Linked DNA regions of Homo sapiens: region 1 is linked to region 2. The links are contacts of gene promoters, found by promoter capture Hi-C in blood cells and fetal thymus (Javierre and others, 2016). All regions are on one chromosome and are shown on one strand. The core of a region is centred on a gene start or on the middle of the fragment in contact, and the rest is flanking DNA. Distances in the headings are between cores, read along the strand shown. Region 1 overlaps DOCK4 (dedicator of cytokinesis 4). Region 2 holds the start of SMIM30 (small integral membrane protein 30).

Region 1 (6,498 bases), core at 630-3,129, 1.4 Mb before region 2:
GCCTTTTTTTTAAAATTTTTTTGAGACAAGAGTCTTGCTCTGTTACCCAGGCTGGAGTGCAGTGGCATGATCTCAGTTCACTGCAACCTCCGCCTCCTGGGTTCAAGCGATTCTCCTGCCTCAGCCTCCCGAGTAGCTGGGATTACAGGCACCCGCCACCACACCCAGCTAATCTTTGTATTTTTAGTAGAGATGGGGTTTCACCATGTTGGTCAGGCTGGTCTTGAACTCCTGACTTAAGGTGATCCAACAGCCTCAGCCTCCCAAAGTGCTGGGATTACAGGCATGAGCCACTGCGCCCAGCTGACAATGGCCTTTAAATGGATTTTTGTATTCTACGAGGCTGAAGCTGTAGACAGTGGTTTTCTTGGCACTGAGTTACATAAATGTCTTCAACCTTATACAATATTGACACATTTCACCAAGTTAAAAGCCAGGCTTTATTAATCGAAATCTTGTAGTCAGTGGGTTTTTCAGTGTATGTCACATGTATATTTTCTATCATTTTATGAAAACCAGGGAGAAGAGTTGGCATGCAGATAGATTTTTACCACAGCTGTCAAAACCAGCATTTAACCATGCCCTTATATGCTTGGAAGTTATCTGTTTTATGTCAAGTTTTCTGATGCAAACACATTTTGATGGTTTGACTTGTTAAGTTGGCTCTGGTTAGGCCAATGAATGGTCAGCCAACCACGTAAATGTTACCCTTTCTATGGGATATTAACCCATACTGTTTGTTACCTTTCTGGTGATTGTTCCCTATGGCATAAGTGAGCCGTAGTGAGTGTGAAATGCATCTACGTGGCAGGACAACACAAACAGGATCTATCTAAAAAGAAGTCTGGAAATCTCACTATAATAAGATCAAGAGCCGCTTCTATTACAAGTAAAGACATGCTGATGATAGGAGTAAAGACAGAAATATTAAGATTAATCTGGTAATTTTATTTAATATTTACCATTCAGCAGCAACCAACATGAACATGTGGGCTAACAGAATCTCTTAAAATGTTCTGCTATGTAGCTGCTTCAGAAATACACACACATGATAAATTCAAGATAAATTCAACTGCTCACTGCCAAAATTTTTTTTAAAAAATGGCTCCAAGAGCAAATAACACTGATTTATAATGTGCCCAAGCACTAGTCAACAAATCTATTAAATTACACAGGAAAAGGAAATCAAGGAAGCTTTGTTATCTTATGCATGTCATCTTATTTAAATGGAAGGTTTTACTTCTTTAAAGCAACAGAAATATGGAGCTTCACATATATATGTATATATATATGAATGTGGTTACAAACACGAAGTGTTATCAAAAGCAAAAGCTAGTTCAAAAAATTTCTGACTGCAAAACTTGCAAGATACAAAGCTAAAATGCATATGTTCCTTTTCTCAATTATGAACACTTTCACTAAACATAAATATTTAACATATATTAATTTTTCCGACATTCAAAATTGTAAAGTCAATATGGCAGAATTGTTAAAAGCACATATGTACAAATATTCTTTTTCCATACGTAAAGTATTTGGCATAATTATAACAATCATACTGCATCAACAACTGTTTGCGTTTATTTTTACTTTTTTTTACACATAATGGTATCTCTTATTAAAATTAACCAGTTATATACAAAAATACTTGAACATTTATTATAGAAAACCTCTATAACCAGCCTCAACAGCATATACCTGCTGAATGGTTTCATTAAGAGAATATAAAAAAGTGGTCACTGCCTTCCAGGTAAGCTACCAACAAAACAAACATGGTTAAACTAAAATGAGCTTCCCAACAAAAGAGGGAAAATATTTAACAGTATGATTTAAAATACAGTTCATATCTATTGTCAATTGAGTGTTATAAACAGTCAGTAAAAGAAAAAACAAAGATATAAAATACATTACTACATACAAGGTGCTTTTTTCACACTTCTACAACTGGCATTAGCATCCCTATCTAGACCTAAGATGCTATGTTGCAATATTCAAGCTAGAGAAGTCTACAGCAATCCTCCTTCAAGAGAAAGACGACAGGTCAGCTAAGACAAACTCCACTGGTAAAAGTGGAGAGTCGTGAGGAATTTTTTATTTTGTGCAGGACTGAAAGTTAATGCCCTTGCCTTTTATAAGTCCTTTTGCCATTTAATCGTGCTAATACATTTTCACTAAGTTTTTTTTTTCTTCACTTAAGCTATTAATTTAATACTGTCTGTATTGATTCCTGAATTCTTGCTAATGGGGCACAGTCATTTGTGCCTCATTAATACTTCAGCATTTGCTCTTGTTCAATGACAAATTTTATATAGGAAACTATCAAGAAAGGAAGCGCAAAATTCAAGTAAACATTTCTTCTGGAGCCTCTTGCTTAATCTAGCTGATTGGAACTCTGAAGCAAATTGCACCTTGAAAAGAAATACAGTAGATACCACGGTGTCAGGGTAGTAAGGGATTTAGCTACCAATTCACAAAATAGAATTTTACGAATGTAGACAGCAGTCAAACAGCAAAAGCAACCTTAAAGAAGTATTTTGTTTCAAGAACAAAACAATTTCCAGTCCCAAGCTTTGCAACCCCTTAAGTATACTGTCTTGCTCGCCTGCTTGAACTTTAATTCTGATGATCTGCACTGATAAACCTTGCCTTATTTACAGAAGTCTTCTAAAATAAGGACCACTGTGTTAGGATGTGCACTGACTTAATAAGCTTTCTCCAAGTATCAAGTATTCAGTAAAAACGATACAACATTGTCACACATTGTATCGTTTGACAATATCGTATTGGTTTTAAGATTAAACTATATAAAAAAAAGTGAACATAAAAAGGTACAAAAGGAGTCTTTATCACTATTTACCACTTCCAAATGAGAAACGTTTTAATGAAATTCAGCCATACTTCATTTAACATCTGGCGTTTTAGATCAGCAACTTTTAATATTGTGCAACATGATATTTAATAAGCAAGTTTTAATTCCATTCATCGAAGGAGCTGAGTAAGTTATTAAAGTGCCTACACTAAATGTCTTCTCATCATACTTCTTATTTTGTAAACGGGCAAAGAATGCATCGCAGGTACATAGAAAAGTGACTTATAACTGAGAGACCTTGCGGGGCAGGGGCCTGGGCCGCGGGCCGGGGTCAGTCCTCCGGGCCCCATTCTCCAGGTGGCTGGATCGCGCTGCCAGAGGCTTGGGGGGCAGCGCGGGCGGCTCCGACGTGACGGGGATGGAGAGGCTGTGAGGTAGCGGGACGGGGCGCCGCAGAGTCCGCTCGTAGACGCTGTACGGGGGCGGAGTCTTGCTCTCCTTGCGCACTGGCTCCTCCCCGCCGTAGCTCGGCACGGGCACCGGCACTGGCACCGGCAGGGGGGCCGACTGTTCATTCACCTGATTTTCAAAGCCTGAGGTTTCCGACGTGCTGCACCGGCTGAGAGAAGAAATCCCACTGCTGTAGCTGCCCGACAAGACAGGGGAGTTGGAGATGAGTCCTGGCGAGTGGTACTCCACTGGAGAGGGGGTGAAAGACTGCACAGAGCCCTGCTCCGGGGAGAAGGAAACGAGAGGGAGACACAGCATTGAGTCGTGAACGCAGATGCGCTGAAATGTACGCCCCGACGCGGAGGCCCCGGCCCCCAGCACCCCCAAAGCCGGCTGCAGCAGGAGATGCAGCCTTTAAGGAGGTGATTAAGGTAAAAGGCCATTATGGTGGATCCTAATCCAAGCTGACTGGTGTCCTTATAAGAGACATTTGGACACACAGGGAGACGTCAGGAATGCGACACACACAGACCTTGCAGGAAGGGCGGTCTGCAAGCCCAGGAGGGAGGCCTCGGGGAAACCAAGGCTGCCACGCATTGATCCTGGACTTCTACCTGCCAGAATTGAGAAAATACATTCCCAGTGTCTAAGCCACCCAGTTTGTGGTATTTTGTGAGGGAAGCCCGAGCAGACGAATACACTCACACTCAAATTTGAGTGTTGTCCTTTGTAGCACTGAAAATGCACACCAGACGTTTATCTGCGAGGGCCACCAGTCCTCGAGTTCAGTTCACCGCCCAGTTTACTCCTTATCATTTTCAGATAGAGGAGAAAGGAGCTGGGCATGGTGGCTCACGCCTGTAATCCCAATACTTTAGAAGGCCGATGCAGGGATCACTTGAGGCCAGGAGCTTGAGACCAGCCTGGGCAACATGGCAAAACCCCATTTCTACTAAAAATCCAAAGGGTTAGCTGGGCGTGGTGGCTCATGCCTGTAATCCCAGTTCCTCTGGGAGGATCACCTGAACCTTGGGAGGTTGAGACTGCAGTGAGCCGTGGAGCCACCAGTGCACTCCAGCCTGGGCAACACAATGAGACCCTGTCTCAAAAAATAAATAAAGGTATCCACCAAGATAATCTGGAGGCACACATTAGTCCTATAGTTTGGAAGAGAGGGAACTGGCCAAAAACCCCAAAAACCTAAAAACGCCATAAAACCTTTGGGGGCGCTATTCACTTTCCCAGCTCAGCAGGGCATGCTGCAGGCCAGGAGCCAGGGCCGCTGAGCACACTCAGCTCAGAAGACCCAGAGAGCTCAGGAGGAGGAGCAGAGGCACCCGAGGTTCTGCACCTGATTTCTCCAGCCATCACTCCAGACTCCAGACTCCTGAGCTGAACTGGCGAACTGGCAGCCCTCGGGGCTGTAGCCTGTGATGTGAGCTGTTTCCTCAGCAGTTTTTTAAAAACCTAATTTAGTTAATTTTTAACATTTCAAATTTCACATGAAACTCCAGAATTCTGGCAGTTCATAAAGAACTAGGAGTTCTGGCCACAATGGCACACATTCTCTTAATAGAGATAATCTTTAAAAGCTGAGAAGGGCTGTCCCTTTTCACTTTGCCAGTCCCCACTATGCCACGTGGGGACTACACCCGGCCTCCTTCATTTGTGTCAGCTGTCTGGCCCCATTTGGCATCTGAGTTTGTTACTTTCCCAACTAGTATCCCAAGGAAAACGAGTCCTAAGATAGATGCTCTGTGAAAAGAGGGTTCCGCTGGGAAATGCTGCACACTGTATACTCCTTGTGTATATTCAAAACATATTCGCATTTTCAAGGCTTAGAATAAAGGAATACAAATAATTTTGTTCAGTCCAGTGTTTTCCAAACTTACTTGACTATAGACCTTTTCTCCCCCGCTTATTACATAATGTCCTGGAAAACTAGTGTTCTATGGTATACACTTTGAGAAATGCTATCTTCTTAAGCTAACTTGACTTTGGTTTCTCTTTGTAAACAAAATAACGCTGGTAGATACACATCCTGTCATTTAGTAGGAGCCTAACATTAAGGCCAATTAAGAGTTCCCAATTCACTGCTACCTCTGTCAAAAGTTAGACCTGAAATTCAAAATATGGCAGGTCAGCTCAGTCTTCGCTGTAGGGTTAGACCCACAGTTTGATGGCTGGCTGGGGTAAAAAAAAAACCCAAAACCCCACTAAACTCTTATCAGTTAAGGCAGCACACTGCAAGGCTAGTAACATGGTAGCAGTGTGCCCCCTAATGTAACCCAGGAGGTATAACACAAATGTTCGATCTATGTTCTCTTCCTTCAAACCCTACATATAAAGACATGGCTTCGAACTGCATATGGCCAGTAAAAATGTACACAGGTCTGCTGAGAGACAGTATATACCAGCTTGCTAAGACTATTTTATAGCTATTCAAACATTTTTAGCTCTTGGGTTCTTTTTAATGTTTAAGAATTAATCTCTTAAGACTTATTTTCTTACTACCCAACAAAATTTAAGTTGAAAAATACAGATGATAATTCCATAGCAACGTGTGGGAGCTCTGTGTGAGTAAGGGCAAATGTAAAAGTGCGGAAAAGCCATGTTGCTTTCCTTTCTATCACATCGAGGTGACAGGCTATGACTTCCAGAGTGAATGCTGTCACAGGTACTTCATAATAACAGCTGCATTACAGAATGAGAACAAAACGAGCAAATCACTTGCACTTACCCGCGAATTTCTACGTCAGAAATTCTGGCAATGCAAGGGAATCACACTTCTTTCAATTTTCTCCATTTTGCGGGGGGAGGCGGGTTGTTTTCCCGTTTCTCAATTTCTATCAGCAACTATCGTTAGCACCACAGATGCACTGGATCGCAACCTGCCCCTATGTGTTTGTAGAGGCTAATTTGTCTTTTGCACATTAGCTAGAACTAGCTCATCACACAAAGGACATGGAGCGTGTAAATCCTAAGTCACTCAGGTACAAAATCATTCTTTCGACACACTTCATATTTGCCTCTGGTGCAGCAGTTCTGAACACCAATCTCTCACGTACTGACAATCCTTGAAGCCGGTCTGATTCAATTTGGATAAGACTAAATATTATTCTTTATCTTCATGAGGGATTTTTTATGTTTAAAGATGTTAAATAGCCCATGTCTACAAACCAATTCGAATGTCTGACCTTTACAGCTTTCCAGTTTGTTCCCTAGAAATCTTTTAAATC
Region 2 (7,265 bases), core at 3,290-5,789:
GGCTGGGTGGGGAGCTGGCACTTTCATCCTCACCAGTTGATAGTAAGAACCTCCCTCTTCTACGCTGGTACCCATGAAGACCATGTGGGTAGCCTGGACTCCACTCCCACCTGGTGGTAACAAGGCAACCTATCACCAGTGTCAGTGGAGGGTATAGGAGGAGCAGTCATGAGGCTTCCACCTGCATCTGGCAGGAAGGAGGAGGCATCCTCCCTTTCTACGAAGGAGTGGTGTCAGAGGAATGTTAAAATACAAAATTTAAATAAGAGCCACAGCCTTTTAAATATAATACCCAGAATGTCCAAATGTCAATAGAAAAATCATCATCATACTAAGAACTGGGAAGATCTCAACTTGAATGAGAAGACAATCAACAGATGCTAAACACCGAGGTGACAGAGATGTTAGGATTATTAAGGATTTAAGCAGCCATGAAAAGGTGCTTCAGTGACAATCACAAACATGCTTGAGACAAATGAAAAAACAGGTCTCCACAAAGAAACACAAGACACAAAGAACAAAATGGAAAGTTTTGAACAAAAAATACAACAGCAGAAACGGTGAACTTAAGCATACAATACTAGAAATTACCCAATCTGAATAAGAGAAAAAAAGGACTGAAAAAATAAATAGAGCCTTAGGTATGCATCAGACTATAACAAAAATATCTAATATTGGGTCCCTGGAGTCCTAGAAGAAAAGGAGAATGAAAGTGGAGCGAAATTTTTGTAAAAAGAAAGAATGGCTGAAAATTTCCTGAATTTGGGAAAAAAGAATAAAACTGTAAGTCTCAGATACCGAGTGAACCCCAAACAGGATAAACCCAAAGATATATCCATGCCGAGATATATCACAAACTTCTAAAAATTAATGACAAAGAAGAGTTATGAAAGCAGTTAAGAGAGAAATGATGCAGGAAATGTACTGATTTTTAGCATTAGAGAACTAAGCTGGTTACATTAAAACTACAGAGAACAGAAATATAAGTATTTGCAAGGACCTTAAATTCTTCACTTGATCTCAACTATTTTTAACTCAACTCAGTGAGCTAACATGCACAAGGCATTTACTAGATATCTACAAATTGTGCTGGGCATCAGAATATTTGCTAATGCCATTCTTGCTGTAACTGCTCCACAGCAGGTGTTATCCCTCATAGAAAATCAAGGAATTTTAGAATTGGAAAGATCCTGGATGGGCTTCAGCTCTGAAACTAATCTAAAAATGTCAGCATGCATGGGAATTTTCCTAAAGAAAAAGATGATAGCTTTCATCAGATTCTCAAAGGAACTGGTGGCCTAAAAATGTTAAGAGCCACCATAAGGGTTCTGTTCTTTTCAGGCAAAGCCATATAATCCAACCTAAATAGATGAGAAATGAGGCTATTTTTAGAGGAGGTGTTCCCCCATCATATCCATCAAAATTCCTGCATGCCACCTCAAGACAATTCTCTACTTTTAAGGGGAAAATAGGGAAATGGCAGTTTTCTAATTCTTTCTAGGCACTTTTGGAAATACACGTTGACCAAAGAATGTTTGCCTATAGTCTTATTTTGAACATTTTAAAAACAGTACCTGGAGGTGACTAAGTGACTACTGCACTGTGATTTAAAATGTACTTTAGGTTTGATTTCTCCCATCCCAATGGAAAAGTTGACATGCAAGGAAGCCGCAGCAGCCTTTCTACATCAGCACCCAATGGGCTGGAGTATAAGAGATGACAATTGTTCTATAACTTGCATCATTCCTTTTTCCTTCTTTAAAACACACAAAAAAATGCAGGTACAATCAAGCTATATTAATTATGAAATGTTTAACTGCCAATTAATTTGAATAAAGACTGTTAGTGCTTCCTCTAGCAAAAAATCGAAACAGCTGTGACAAAAACAAGTGCATTCAGTTTCCATGTCTTTATTCTGTGATGCTTCTTCACTCCTTGTACACTTTAACCAAAACTTTCATGCAAGCCAAGTCAGCTCACTCTAGAATTACACCATAAACAGGACTTTAGGTTGCTAGTGCCTGTTTTTGGATAAAAAATGAGGCTCCCAATGTCATCTGGAGAGCTACAGATTGGAAAATGCATTTTAGGAAAAAATTTCACTACTTACCTCCAGTGTGACCCTAAAGTTTGATTTCCTTAGACTACTTTATGCTGGCTACAACTTGAGAATCAAATGAATCACTGAGGACCCTTGTTAGACATGGAGTTCCAGGCCCCATCTCACAGCTATACAACCAGGAGAAAGACCAGGGAATCAAAAAGTCTTATCAAGTGCCTGGAATGATTCTTGGGCTCAAGCAAGTTGGCAGTCTTCTTAAATTTGTAATGTGCATACAAATTAACTTGGGCTTTGGAAACGAATGCTGTTCCTGATCCAATTGGTCTGGGTGGGGCCTGAGATTCTGCATTTCTAACAAGCCCCAGGTGATGTTGCTGGCTTGAAGACACTTTAAGTAGCTAGGCCAGAGAGGATATTTCGTTTGGCTGGCGTACAAATCAGTTTAAGCCATTTCATTTTCCTTCTATATTTCTAGATTTTCTATCAGGGGCTTCTCTGACCTTAATGCTGCCCAGTTCTCATTATGTCTCTTCAAGCTACCGCAATCAGTTAACACAAGGCATCCTGCCCTTCTCCACTTAGCTCATATAAAAATCCACAATGGATACAAACAGCCCCAAATAAGAAATGGACACGAAACATTAACTTATAACATAATGGGTTTATATTTAATATAGTACTTCTCATCAGGAGGATGTTACTCAGTTAATATAAAGTTTTTTTTCAAAACATTAAATCTCTTTTCCATGTCAATGTCTATAGTTTTTTTTTAACATTAAATTTTTTTCCGCATTTCAGTATTAGATACACTGAATACATTTTTCTAAATGTTTTTTCCCTAGAGATAAAAGTTTTCCTTTTTGCCTGACTCTCTGATATCTAAATATAATATTAACTTGGGAGACAACAAAACAAAAATCTAATTTAAAAGACTCCTCAACGATTCAGGAGGCAGTGATTATAACCGAACAGTGGTGATTTCCTAAGATTCTGGGCAAGAACTTCCTTCTTCCTATTTCACATGCTTTGAGAGAATTCTAAGATTATGAAATATTACTTATGTAAATTTCAGCCATCTTACTTCTTTGACTACCTAACTAGCAAATTATAGGCTGCATTTTTCTGTGCATTATTTGTTGTAAAGAAAACATTTTTTTTTCAATTTATAAATGTATGTTTGTTGCCATTTCATGGAAACAATGAAAAATGTGAAACTCCCTTATTTACTGATTCTTGGAACCTTTCACACACCAAATCTCAGGTTTAGCCTCTAAAGCGCAAAGGTTTTCAGGGTGAGGTTTGACTCAGTAGGCCTTTCAAAGTCACATCTGTCCATTTCTTTTTCGTGCATATACCCCCAAGCAGGCACAAATGCCTGTAATGCTGAGAACCACACCTAACAAAAGGGCGATTGCATCACCGGCTTCTACTGCTTCCACAACAGGCAGCACCAAAAGCAGTGACATGAGGACTAAGGACAACTGTGTTGAAACTGAGGTCATGATGTTGGAATCTTGAGGGCTGAAGGTTCCTAGAAATTAAACATGGAAACAAAAAGGAACCATTAAAAATTCCTCCCTTTTCAAATGACAAAATGAACACATGACAAATAACAGGCCAGCCAATCTTTTGGATACTTTATGAATCATTTCCAATCCATCTCCTCATCTTATAGGTGGAAAAACAGAGGGACGTTAAAGACAGTAATTTGAGGTTCATCTCCCTATCTCGTGATAACACTCTAAACCCAGGAATTTTCCACGATAATGCCAACACCTCGTGCATCAACCAAACAAAAATTGAACAGGAGTTCATAATTAAGAACAAACAGAAAAAAAGCACGAGCCACTAACTTGGAAACTTAAAATATCCTAGTGGGTAAAAATTGTACATTTTCTTAGGGTCTCTCCCATCCAAGAAATGCAGACAAATTTGGCAAAAGTCACACAACATATAACTCTGCGAAGTTGTGGGGAATTAATAAGACTTACCAAAGAAATGGTATATATAGAATTCTATCTGACTTGAAATTTTCCCTTCCTGGAGCTCCGGATGCTGAGATTAAGAGGTTCCACGTGACACGACCTATTATTAGCATGGGGGGTGGGGAGGGGGCGGAGAGAAGGATTTAAAAATTAATTATTATTACTATTATTATTTTAAAGAGGCAGCTAGAGTCAGTGCAGAGCGTGGAGGCCATATGGACGGTAGGGGGATAGGTAATGAGTTGAGAAAAGTCTGTCCAACAGGGAACTAGACTTAAAAGTTGGTCAGTTCACCCACACAAGAAAAGGTAAAAAGAAACAGAACAGAGATAATTTCATTTCAGGACTTGATATTAAGATTTGAAAAAGAATTCGTACTTTGGCCCGGCAAGGTCCAAATTTGCTCCTGTTTTACAAATACACTGGTGCAACCTAAGTATCCTTTGGAGACGAGTTCGTACATTACCTTCTAGGAAGCAGCCATTACAGGAATGGCGAGGAGGGCGGAGTCTCCAAACTACATTTCCCACAATCCCTGCCGCCGCCGACTCCTATGATGCCCCGGCGCGTTCCCCCTATAAGTAGCAGAGGGCGTGACGGTCACGCTCTAGCGGAGGCGAAGAGTCGCGAACGCGCGGGACTTCCTTTCCCTGCCCAACGTTTTACTATTAAATAGATGGTTTCGTGTGTTTATATAAAAGCTCACTTCAAAATAAAAGAAATGATAGCAAGTGTTTTCTACCCTGTTGAGTCTGTAAGGCGCACATGTAATTTTGTCTTTTTCTTCGACTGAAATGACACAGCGGGGAGAGAGAACCCAAGTACAGCCCTCTGTTCCGGGTGCTTTTAAACCAGTGGCTTCCAACGTTTCTGAAGCAGGAAATCTCTGTCACCATCTTCCTAATGAAACATATGCCATTTATTAATTTTTTAGTCAATGGGGAAAAAGCGCGGTTAATAAGACATATCGTAAAAGGTTAAAAAACATTTGTAGTGCAAAATAAAGTTTAGGAAAAATGGGTTTAGCCCTGTTGCAGAAGATCTCTCAGGATTCAGGTCCTAAAGTGACAATCTATTCAGGAGTGCACTGCGGTGATTCCTTCCCACCTATGTTTTTGTGAAACCTCAGCCCCAAATGTCCCTACATATTTGTGAAAAGATGTAAAAATACTGCTTTTAAATCATAAAACAAGAATTAGTTATTTGTATATGTAAGTCGTAACCTTTCTGAAAGGCGCTCTTTCAATTGTCTGCTAATTGTGAACTCCTTACTGAACCTTTCTAGTCATCTGATCTTCTGAACTCTTTCATATTTACTGATTTGAAAATTTATTTGCTATCCTTACATTATAAATTATTAATGATGAGGGTTGGGTGTGAAGCCACCTGCCTGGTCTGAAAGTCCCCTGGTTCAGTCTGTTAGATAATGCAGGTACGTTCAGTTCAATGCCAATAATTAGCATGTATTCTTGTGTTGTCGGTTACCCTTTTTCTTACACGTTCCTAGTCTCTCTAGCAAAGATTTATATTCTTGGCTCCTAACCGGCACCCAGCAGGTGCTCAGTAATGTTGCCTAATAATAATAATGATTTGACTAGATAAATATGCCAACAAGATCTTATGAGAGACCGAGAGGTGCCAAATAAACCAAACCAAGGTGACTAGAAAATTGGAAATCTGAGAATAACTGCACAATAACGTCAGCATTGTTTCTCTAACCTTGATTATTTTAACAAGGTTTTGTTCATTTCATCCTTTGTTTTGAGCTACTTTCGTGCCTTTGTAATCAATTATATTTGGAATAGGAGTTATATTTTTATAGCTTCCAAAATATTCTCTCATATCCTACTGTGAACATTTTGTTTTTCCCTACATGTTTATTTTTCCTTATGTGTTTATTTTAGTTAGCTGAAGTCAGCAGAGACTACTTTAAAGTTAGTATTGTTACAGACTTGTTTCTAGGCACGTCAACATTAAAGATAATGGTTTGGTTTTAAGTTTAAAGAGTCTGTAAGTGGCAAGAAACTTTCTCTTTAAATTATGATGGTTTTTATTAGTTTGTGAAATATATATTATATTGGGAAATGTCGATCTCGGGGGCGGGGTTCCAGTAATAGCTGATGTAGTTGCAAGGATTAATTTCTGGAGTACCATGAATATGATAATCTCCTTCACTGCTTTGACCTGCTCCTACTGTGTGATTTTTAACATGCCTTCACTCTATCTCAGTGAACTGTTATTTCCTAGCTGTAAACCAGGTTAGATATTTTGGCTAGATTGCTGACCAGGATAATAACTGCCATGTTGTACATGTTTGGTCTCTCTTCTAAAAAAGGCGATGATAGATGAGAAGCTGCTTCTGTGTCCGTCATCTGCCAACTACAAGTTCTGCCTGTGAACATCTCTGGTAGCAATGTGAACCACCAATTTTCTGAAGCAATGCTACACTCCCATTTTTCCCAAGCTGTATGAATGTTTCTACAGGCTTCTATGTAGTTGTTCTTTTGACACTAAGTGTCTAGGGTTATAGAATCCATAATTTAGTCTTTCGATTCAAACAAATCTGCACCTACACCATCCTTTACTGAAATAGAGATCAATGGCACCAATGATACTTAAAGCACTTTACTTTAGTTACTTACCTGAGCAGTGGAGAGCAAAATTTTCCATCAGTTGTTACCCAGAAATGGTTTCAGGAAAAAAAAAAAAAAAAAAAAGGAAGTGGCTTCTGCTCATTTTTCTGTTAGAAGTGAGTCATTGGTAGGCCCTGAAGGAAGGCACCTCTGGGATCCATCAGAGGATGCAGGACAGGCCAATATCAGGATTTTGCAGTGACTGGTGTGTGTCAGGGAATTTATAAAACCCAGACTTCCTCATTAGCAATTGAGCCAAGCCAAGTGAGTCGAAACATTTTACTGGAGCTTCACAATTAAAAAAGACCAACCCAGACCTAGTCAGTATTTCCCATCATTAATAGGACTAATCACTGAGAATGTTAGAACTAACTACTCATTAGGTCAAAAGGATGGGAGAAGCTACACTTTCCAGAGCTGTTCAACTACTGCAGAAAACGTCTCCTGAGGCTAAGTACCTCTTGTACCAGCATTTACAGAAGTGTATGGGAGAGGTGCAAAAGGTCATTTTGGGCAAAGTTCCAGGCACCACCTAGAGCCCATTATGTATGTGGTCCTTACTCCCACTGGTGATCGTCATTTGTC

The links. Contacts are between HindIII fragments. The CHiCAGO score rates a contact against its expected background, and 5 or more counts as called.
Region 1: a contact is called between a fragment that was not itself captured here and the fragment with the promoter of SMIM30 in region 2, in 1 of 17 cell types (neutrophils). The highest score is 6.0, in neutrophils.

Annotation. Positions count from the first base shown.
Region 1 is chr7:111,725,183-111,731,680 of GRCh38, forward strand. It overlaps DOCK4 (dedicator of cytokinesis 4), which reads right to left. Exons shown (of 53, transcript NM_001363540.2): 53 at 928-3,538. The coding sequence ends at 3,092. Among named protein-coding and RNA genes, the nearest start is that of DOCK4-AS1, 80 kb to the right of the region's middle. The HindIII fragment of the contact is 1,374 bases long and covers 1,193-2,566 here.
Region 2 is chr7:113,114,015-113,121,279 of GRCh38, forward strand. It overlaps SMIM30 (small integral membrane protein 30), which reads right to left and starts at 4,540. Exons shown (of 3, transcript NM_001352688.2): 1 at 4,514-4,540; 2 at 4,054-4,147; 3 at 2,704-3,593. The coding sequence starts at 3,564. The coding sequence ends at 3,385. All of the region lies in intron 2 of LOC107986837, which reads left to right. RefSeq lists enhancers at 4,311-4,905, 4,800-4,939. The HindIII fragment of the contact is 11,880 bases long and covers 1-7,265 here.